Linked DNA regions of Homo sapiens: all the other regions are linked to region 3. The links are contacts of gene promoters, found by promoter capture Hi-C in human tissues and cell types (Jung and others, 2019). All regions are on one chromosome and are shown on one strand. Each heading gives the region's core, a stretch centred on a gene start or on the middle of the fragment in contact. The rest is flanking DNA. Distances are from core to core; before and after follow the strand shown. Region 1 overlaps USP43 (ubiquitin specific peptidase 43). Region 2 overlaps CFAP52 (cilia and flagella associated protein 52). Region 3 holds the start of USP43 (ubiquitin specific peptidase 43).

Region 1 (2,902 bases), core at 343-2,842, 63 kb after region 3:
TTTTTTTTTTTTTTTTTTTTTTTTTTTTGAGACAGAGTCTCGCTCTGTGTCCCAGGCTGGAGTGCAATTGCACGATATCGGCTCACTGCAACCTCTGCCTCCCGGGTTCTAGTGATTCTCCTGCCTCAGCCTCCTGAGTAGCTGGGACTACAGGCGGGTGCCACCACACCCAGCTAATTTTTTGTATTTTTAGTAGAGACGGGGTTTCACTGTGTTAGCCAGGCTGGTCTTGAACTCCTGACCTCATGATCTGCCCGCCTCGGCCTCCCAAAGTGCTGGGATTACAGGCGTGAGTCTCCGTGCCCAGCCTGGGATTTTTATGACTAGAACTAACATATGTAAGATGCTTCTCATATTGTAGGCCCCAACAATTGGTAACTTTCAAGCTGCCATATACTTTTACATAAATGCTATCATACCATAGATGTATTTTTTGTTTTTAGTGGATTTTTGTTTGCCATTTTACATATCAAAATAAACTTAAAAGATGTTAAATGAAATAAAATATGATGATGAGGCACTTGACTAAATGGCAAAATGAAACACTGGGTTCCATCATGACCTCCTGATGTGCGCATCCATTTACGTACGCGCACATGTGTGTTTATGTGTACATACATAGATTAAGACTAAACAGAATTTCATGAGTCGATAATTAAATTTACTACATGTGATATACCTTGGTCCATTCTATTCCAGAATAACATATTACTTAATTTTAAAAATGCTTTGGCCAGGCGCGGTGGCTCACGCCTGTAATCCCAGCACTTTGGGAGGCCGAGGTGGGCGGACCACGAGGTCAGGAGATCAAGACCATCCTGGCTAACATGGTGAAACCCCGTCTCTAATAAAAATACAAAACAATTAGCCGGGTGTGGTGGCAGGCGCCTGTAGTCCCAACTACTCGGGAGGCTGAGGCAGGAGAATGGCGTGAACCCGGGAGGTGGAGCTTGCAGTGAGCCGAGATCATGCCACTGCACTCCAGCCTGGGCGACAGACCGAGACTCTGTCTCAAAAAAAAAAAAAAAAGCTTTAAAATATTTCATTTTTTATTTATTAAACATTTTTTTTTAATGCACTGATTACCAGTGTCCCGATGGGCTGATGACTGGCAATTTGGAAGACACCAAACTATATAGAAATCCAGGATCTTTGCTCATTAATTCATTGCACAAATGTATATTAAGTACCTGTTCTATGCCAGGTCCTGGAGCTTCAGTGATGAACAAGACAAATACAAGGCCTGCCCTCATGGGACTTCAGTCTCACTTTGGAGACAGACAATAAAATGTGCTTATCATTTTAGCACTTTCACTACCTGACATTTTGAAAGGGCGACTGATTGACTGTGTCTGTGATAGACATAAGGCCTCTGCAAGGATGTCACATGTAGGCTCAGAGCTGAGGATGAGATAGAACTAGCTATGTGAATAATGGGATGAATTGCATTATGAGCAGAGCTCGTAGCATGTGCAAAGGCCCTGAGGCAGAAAGCATTCGGTGTGTTTAAGACATGATGACAGCCTGGATGAAGTGTAGCCATTCAGGGGTAATTGATGAAGGGTGGGGCTGGAGAAGTGGGCAGGACACTCTAGGCCACGGATGGGAGTTTGCATTTTTTCCAAAGGGGTGATAAATCATTTAAAGGTTCTAAGCAGAGGAGTGAAGACATAATCTAGTGTACAAATCAAACTAGTTGCTCTGCTGTATGGAGAATGTGTAGAAGGGATCTAGAGTGGAAGCTGGAATTCCAGTTAGGAGGGTGCTTCAGGGGCCGAGTGAGAGACACCACTGGCTGAGATGTTGGTGTTGACAATCAAGATATTCGAGACATAGTTTGGAAGTAGAATCAGTAGGTCTGGCTTTTGGATTAGGTGTGGGGCGGAACGGAAAAGCAAGAGCAAAGATGAACTCCTAGGTGGCTGGCTTGGATTAGTGTGGAGGTCAGCAAACTGTGGCCCACGGGCCGGATCCAATCTAGGGCCTGTTTTTTGTTGTTGTTGTTGTTTTTTGAGACGGAGTCTCACTGTGTTGCCCGGGTTGGAGTGCAGTGGCGTGATCCTGGCTCACTGCAACCTCTGCCTCCTGGGTTCAAGCGATTATCCTGCCTCAGCCTCCCAAGTAGCTGGGATTACAGGCGTGCACCACTACGCCCAGCTAATTTTTTGTATTTTTAATAGAGACGGGGTTTCACCATGTTGGCCAGGTTGGTCTCGAACTCCTGACCTCGTGATTTGCCCACCTCGGCCTCCCAAAGTGCTGGGATTAAAGGCATGAACCACCACGCCCGGCCTGTTTTTTTTCCCCCGTTTATTAATAATCTATGGGTTAAAAATGGTTTTTACAATTTTAAAAGTGGGAGAAAGACACGCAGAATATGCGACAGAGAATATATGTGGCCATATGTGACCTGCAAAGTCTCAATATTTGTCATCTGGTCCCTTATGGGAAAAGTTTGCAAACTTCCAGATTACTGGGTTATGCTGTCATTTGCTGACACGTAGAGGGCAAGGAAACGGATATTTTGTTGTCGTTACTTGAGAAATGGTGAGAATATTTATGAATTTTCCTTAGACGTTTGACTTCAGTTCTTAGAAAGAGGTATGCCATAAGCCCAATTGTGATTCTCATCTTCACTTTTATTGCATGCTTAATCAGAGATATGCATTTTGAAGCTTCTCAGAAGAAATGGGGTGAACGCTGACATTATTGTTTGGCTACCTAACTTGGGAGCTCCCTTTTATTTGAGATTTTGCCTGATGAAGGGGTAGAATATTCAACTTAAAATAACAGCACTCTTGGCCGGGCATGGTGGCTCAGGCCTGTAATCCCAGCACTTTGGGAAGCCGAGGTGGGTGGATCATCTTAGGTCAGGAGTTCGAGACCAGCCTGGTCAACATGG
Region 2 (2,899 bases), core at 240-2,739, 42 kb before region 3:
CGTGCCATGGTGGTTTGCTGCACCCATTAACCCGTCGTCTACATTAAGTATTTCTCTTAATGCTATCCCTTTTCTAGCCCCCACCCCTGACAGGCCCCGGTGTGTGATGTTCCCCTCCCTGTGTCCATGTGTCCTCATTGTTCAACTCTCACTTATGAATGAGAACATGCGGTGTTTGGTTTTCTGTTCCTGTTTTAGTTTGCTGAGAATGATGGTTTCCAGCTTCATCCATGTCCCTGCAAAGGACATGAACTCATTCTTTTTTATGGCTGCATAGTATTCCATGGTGTATATGTGCCACATTTTCTTTCTATCCAGTCTATCATTGATGGACATTTGGGTTGGTTCCAAGTCTTTGCTATTGTGAATAGTGCCACAATAAACATACATGTGCATGTAGAATGATTTATAATCCTTTGAGTATATACGCAGTAATGGGATTGCTGGGTCAAATGGTATTTCTGGTTCTAGATCCTTGAGGAATCACCACACTGTCTTCCACAATGGCTGAACTAATTTACACTCCCACCAACAGTGTAAAAGTGTTCCTATTTCTCCACATCCTCCCCAGCATCTGTTGTTTCCTGACTTTTTAATGATCGCCATTCTAACTAACGTGAGATGGTATCGCATTGCAGTTTTGATTTACATTTCTCTAATGACCAGTAATAATGAGCTTTTTCTCATATGTTTGTTGGCCGCATAAATATCTTCTTTTGAGAAGTGTGTGTTCATATAGGATAGGAATTCTAATATATTAAACAAATAAAAACAAAGCACATCAGGTTAAGGAGAGCAAGTCTTAGAGCCCTGCCAGTGCCAACTCCTGAGATGCCTCCAAAGAGCTCCATGTAACACTACCTGAAAACTAGTGGATTTTTTGTTTTGTTTTGTTTTGTTTTCCTAGCACTTGGGAACGAAATATCTGTCCAGCAAAGATGCTGGCTATCTTAGGTTTCTCAAACCTTTGGCACTTAAGTCACCTGTGGATGCTGAAATTCTTTTTTATTATTGTTATTATTTTTTGATACAGAGTCTCGCTCTGTCGCCCAGGCTGGAGTGCAGTGGCACTATCTCGGCTCACTGCAAGCTCTGCCTCCAGAGTTTACGCCATTCTCCTGACTCAGTCTCCAGAGTAGCTGGGACTACAGGCGCCTACCACCATGCCCAGCTAACTTTTTTGTATTTTTAGTAGAGACGGGGTTTCACCGTGTTAGCCAGGATGGTCTCGATCTCCTGACCCCGTGATCCACCCGCCTCGGCCTCCCAAAGTGCTGGGATTACAGGCGTGAGCCACCACACCCGGCCCTAAGTAGATATTTCATGTTCATGGATAGGAAGACTCAGTATTGTCACGATATGAGTTCTTCTTAATTTGAACTATAGATTTACTGCAATCCCAATAAACATCCCAGCAAGTTATTTTGTGTCTGTAGACAAACTGATTCTACAGTTTACACAGAGGGGCAAAAGACTCCGACTAGAAAGCACAATATTGATACCTAATGTAGATGACGGGTAATATAGATGATGTAGATGACGGGTTGATGGGTGCAGCAAACCACTATGGCACATGTACACCTATGTAACAAACCCGCATGTTCTGCACATGTATCCCAGAACTTGAAGTATAATTTTTAAAAAAAGAAAGCACAATATTGAAGAAGAACACAGTTGGAGGAGTGACACTACCAGATTTCAAGACTTACCATAAAACTACAGTAATCAAGACAGTGTAGGGTTGGTGAAAGAATAGATAAATGGATCAATGGGACAGAATAGAGAGCCCAAACATGAATTCACATAGTCAACTGATCATTGGTGAAAGAGCAAAGGAAATACAATGGAAAAAAAGATCGTCTTTTTAATAAATAATGCTAAACACCTGGAAAACCAAAAAATAAAAATAAAAAAGCCTAGACACAGACCTTATACCTTTCACAAAAATTAACTCAAAATGGATTACAGACCTAAAACACAAAACAATAGAACTCCTGAAAGATAAAATCCAGAAGACCTAAGATGTGGTGATAACTTTTAGCTATAATACCCATGAAAGAAAGAATTGAAAAGCTGGACTTCCTTAAAATCAAAAATTCTGCTCCATGAAAGACACTGTCAAGAGAATGAAAAATAAAGATACAGAGTGAGAGGAAATATTGGCAAAAGACATACCTGAATAAGGACTGTTACCCAAAATATACAGAGAACTTTTAAAACTCAACAATAAGAAATGGGCCAAAGACCTTAACTGCCACCTCCCCTAAAGAAGATATACAGATGGCAGCCGGGCGCAGTGGCTTGTGCCTGTAATCCCAGCACTTTGGGAGGCTGAGGCGGGCCGATCACCTGAGGTCAGGAGTTTAAGACCAGCGGGGCCAACATGGTGAAACCCCGTCTCTACTAAAAATACAAAAGTTAGCCAAGTGTGGTGGTGTGAGCCTGTAATCCCAGCTACTAGGGAGGCTGAGGCAGGAGAATCACTTGAACCCGGCAGTGAGATCACGCCATTGCACTTCAGCCTGGGGGACACAGCAAGACTCTGTCTCAAAATAAATAAATAAATAAATAAATAAATAAATAAATAAATAAATAAATAAATAAAAGAAGATATACAGATGGCAAGTAAGCATATGGAAAGATACTCTATGTCTTATATCAGCCGGGAAATGTAATTAAAACAGCAATGAGGCACGACTACATACCTTTTCAAATGGCCAAAATCCAGAACACTAACAACACCTAATATTGACAGAGATGGAGAGCAGTGAGTACTATTGTTCATTGCTGATGGGAATGCAAAATAGTACGGCCACTTTGGAAGATAGTTTGGTGGTTTCTTGCAAAATTAAACTTACTCTTACCATGTAATGCAGCAGTTGCACTCCTTGCTATTTAC
Region 3 (2,856 bases), core at 41-2,540:
TCCTGAGTAGCTAGGATTACAGGCATGCGCCACCACGCCTGGCTAATTTTGTATTTTTAGTCGAGACGGGGTTTCACCATGTTGGCCAGGCTGGTCTTGAACTCCTGACCTCAGGTGATCCGCCCGTCTCGGCCTCCCAAGGTGCTGGGATTACAGGCGTGAGCCACCGCGCCCGGCCAGGATCAAGAATATTTAATAAATGATGATCACTTATTAAACAACAAGTAACATTTCAGAGCGTTAGAATACTGCATCTCACATGGTGCTGATCTCTTCCTGAGCTAGAAATTGACGAGAAAGTCATTTTGCAAGACCTTGCCTGATTAATTATAAACCTGACAGTTGCATGGGATAAAGTGAGGGGTGGGGGAGGGGCCCAGGGTTACCCAGGGAATCAAGGGCGGGGCAAGGCCAAACTAATTCTGATTGGGCAATCATTCAACAAGGATCGTGCGTTAAGGAGTGAACCAGAAACCGCGTAGGGGGCGCGCCTGAGAGCCTGAAAACTTCCTGGTTAGCAAATACTGAGGCTGGAAAGGGCCTGAACTTGGCAGTCCATAGATCCAGGTCGAGTTCCGGTTTCCCTGCTTACGGATCGGGCGGCCTCCCTACGTTGCGATAACCTCTCTGAGCCCCCTTCCTTGCCGATTAAAGCAAGGGTGATCAAGTCTTGCAAGTTTTTGGAAAATGATTCTAACCCAATCTGTGGTGTAAAAAAGCAAACCACAACCACTCGGGGGCTTTTTTCACAGGGCAACACGTGGCTCCCAGTTCAGGTCCCGGGTTGGCGGGTGCAGGCACAGACTCTGCCTCCCCCCAAGGGGCAGACGGTCTGGAAGGAGGTGGCGACACCTGTCCGCACACACCTGAGCCTGCGGAGGAACCAGCGGTGCACAAAAGCGCTCCCCACCCCCACACAGCGCCCAGCGCGCGCCTCTCACCACGCCCGAGGCTGTGCTCTGGAGATGCCTGCCTTGCCCTTTTCTTCCTGCAGTAGCCAGGCCTTTACCATTTACTAGGCGCTTTCAGAATGTTCATTTCTCCGTAATTTCCACTGCTTGAAGGCTGCTCGAGGAACAGGAGCAGCGGCGAAACCCAGGTCTGTCGGTTTACGAGGTAAGGAAGGGTGGGGAATCCGACCACGAAGACTCCCAGTCAGCGCAGCGGGGGCGGCACCAGGCAGGGGTAGGGGTGGCCCGGCGCTGCCCTGGAGGGGGCTGGTCGTGCCGCCGGATTCCCGCGCGGGGCGGGGCTGCCCCGCCCTTGGCTCCGCCTCCGCCCCGTCCCCGCACACCTGGCCCGCAGGTAGCCGGCACCAGGAGCCTTAGAGAAGCTGTAGGGCCTGCTGGCCGCTCGTCCGCCTCGCGCCCGGGGGCTCCGCGCCTGGAGCTGCGCCGGCGGCAGCCATGGACCTGGGCCCCGGGGACGCGGCAGGAGGGGGACCGCTCGCGCCCCGGCCCCGCCGCCGCCGCTCCCTGCGCCGCCTGTTCAGCCGCTTCCTGCTGGCGCTGGGCAGCCGCTCACGCCCCGGGGACTCACCGCCCCGGCCCCAGCCGGGACACTGTGATGGCGACGGTGAGGGGGGCTTCGCCTGCGCCCCGGGCCCAGTTCCAGCGGCCCCCGGGAGCCCCGGGGAGGAACGCCCGCCCGGACCCCAGCCCCAGCTCCAGCTCCCCGCCGGCGATGGGGCGCGGCCGCCGGGCGCTCAGGGCTTGAAGAACCACGGCAACACCTGTTTCATGAACGCGGTGGTGCAGTGTCTCAGCAACACCGACCTGCTGGCCGAGTTCCTGGCGCTGGGGCGCTACCGGGCGGCTCCGGGCCGCGCCGAGGTCACCGAGCAGCTGGCGGCGCTGGTGCGCGCGCTCTGGACTCGCGAATACACGCCCCAACTTTCCGCGGAGTTCAAGGTAGGCAGCGCTGCGCCGCCGACCGCCCTGTCCCCCTGGTTTCGCCTCTTGAAAAGTGTGTGCACGATCAGGAAAGGGTTTTCTTGGGGCCTTCTTTAAATGCCGTTGACCAGTTCAGCCCCGGATTACCGGCTTTGTTTTGAGTCGATGTGTTACGCTGTCGCTTGCTTATGTTTTCTTTGTAAATTAATTCTCCTAGGTATTTTGAGAGGGAGTGGGGTGAGCTGGCAGATTGAAGGGTAATCAGCGTTTTTGGATTCAACAAGCATTTGTTGAAGTATTGAAGGCTTGTGGGCCAGACAGTGTTCTAATGCCAGCTCTAGAGCTTCCAGTCTGGAATGATGTGGGGTAGGGAATGGGATGTTGAAGGCCAAGGCCTCAGAGGAAGGAGGTGATGCTTGCGTTGAGATCTGAATGATGAGAAGGATGCAGTCAGGGCAAGCTGTAGGACTAATCCAGGCAGGAGGAACAGCAAGTACAATTGCCATAGACCCGAAGGAGCTGAGTGCTGGAGACAGGGAAAGAAAAGCAGTGGCGTTGGAGCTTAGGAGGCAGATGAGTTTCGCCAGATCACGTAAGACCTAGGAGGCAACGGTAAAGAGTTTGGATTTTATTCTAAGCCCAGTGGAATCTGACAACCTACAGGCCAGGTACCGTGCTGAGTGCCCAGCAAAGGCAGTGAGCGTGCTATTTTGGAGATAGCATCCTTTTGTTTAAGGCGCATTCAATCCCCTACAATGTATGAGCACGGGCTTGCATTTTATTGTCTGCAAGATCACGGTCTACTTACTCGGGTTGCTGCCGGGTCGTGAGGCTTTGTAAATTGTTTGTATCACTTCACCCGGGATTAAAACGGGGTGTTTGTTTGGGGTCCCAGTTGGATTAAAGCGTTCCTGATAATTGATGCACATGGCTTGCTTCCTGCAAAAAAAAAAAAAAAAAAAAG

What was found. The method cuts DNA at HindIII sites, captures the fragments that hold promoters and counts their contacts. A contact is called where the count stands out against the background at its distance.
Region 1: a contact is called between a fragment that was not itself captured here and the fragment with the promoter of USP43 in region 3, in 1 of the 25 tissues and cell types used here (dorsolateral prefrontal cortex).
Region 2: a fragment that was not itself captured here is called in contact with the fragment with the promoter of USP43 in region 3 in 2 of the 25 tissues and cell types used here (bladder and neural progenitor cells).

The regions. Positions count from the first base shown.
Region 1 is chr17:9,706,634-9,709,535 of GRCh38, forward strand. The region is part of intron 12 of USP43 (ubiquitin specific peptidase 43); the gene reads left to right. Among named protein-coding and RNA genes, the nearest start is that of USP43, 63 kb to the left of the region's middle. RefSeq lists a silencer at 2,215-2,379. The HindIII fragment of the contact is 4,633 bases long and covers 1-2,902 here.
Region 2 is chr17:9,602,201-9,605,099 of GRCh38, forward strand. All of the region lies in intron 6 of CFAP52 (cilia and flagella associated protein 52), which reads left to right. Among named protein-coding and RNA genes, the nearest start is that of CFAP52, 27 kb to the left of the region's middle. The HindIII fragment of the contact is 6,180 bases long and covers 1-2,899 here.
Region 3 is chr17:9,644,227-9,647,082 of GRCh38, forward strand. It overlaps USP43 (ubiquitin specific peptidase 43), which reads left to right and starts at 1,291. Exons shown (of 15, transcript NM_153210.5): 1 at 1,291-1,910. The coding sequence starts at 1,407. It overlaps LOC124903924 (a long non-coding RNA gene), which reads right to left and starts at 1,201. Exons shown (of 2, transcript XR_007065615.1): 1 at 1,010-1,201; 2 at 1-281. LOC107985011 (a long non-coding RNA gene) reads right to left here. Exons shown (of 3, transcript XR_001752790.2): 2 at 2,701-2,831; 3 at 1,879-2,491. It also overlaps a transcript of CFAP52 not described here. RefSeq lists a silencer at 1,164-1,223 and an enhancer at 1,532-2,179. The HindIII fragment of the contact is 10,149 bases long and covers 1-2,856 here.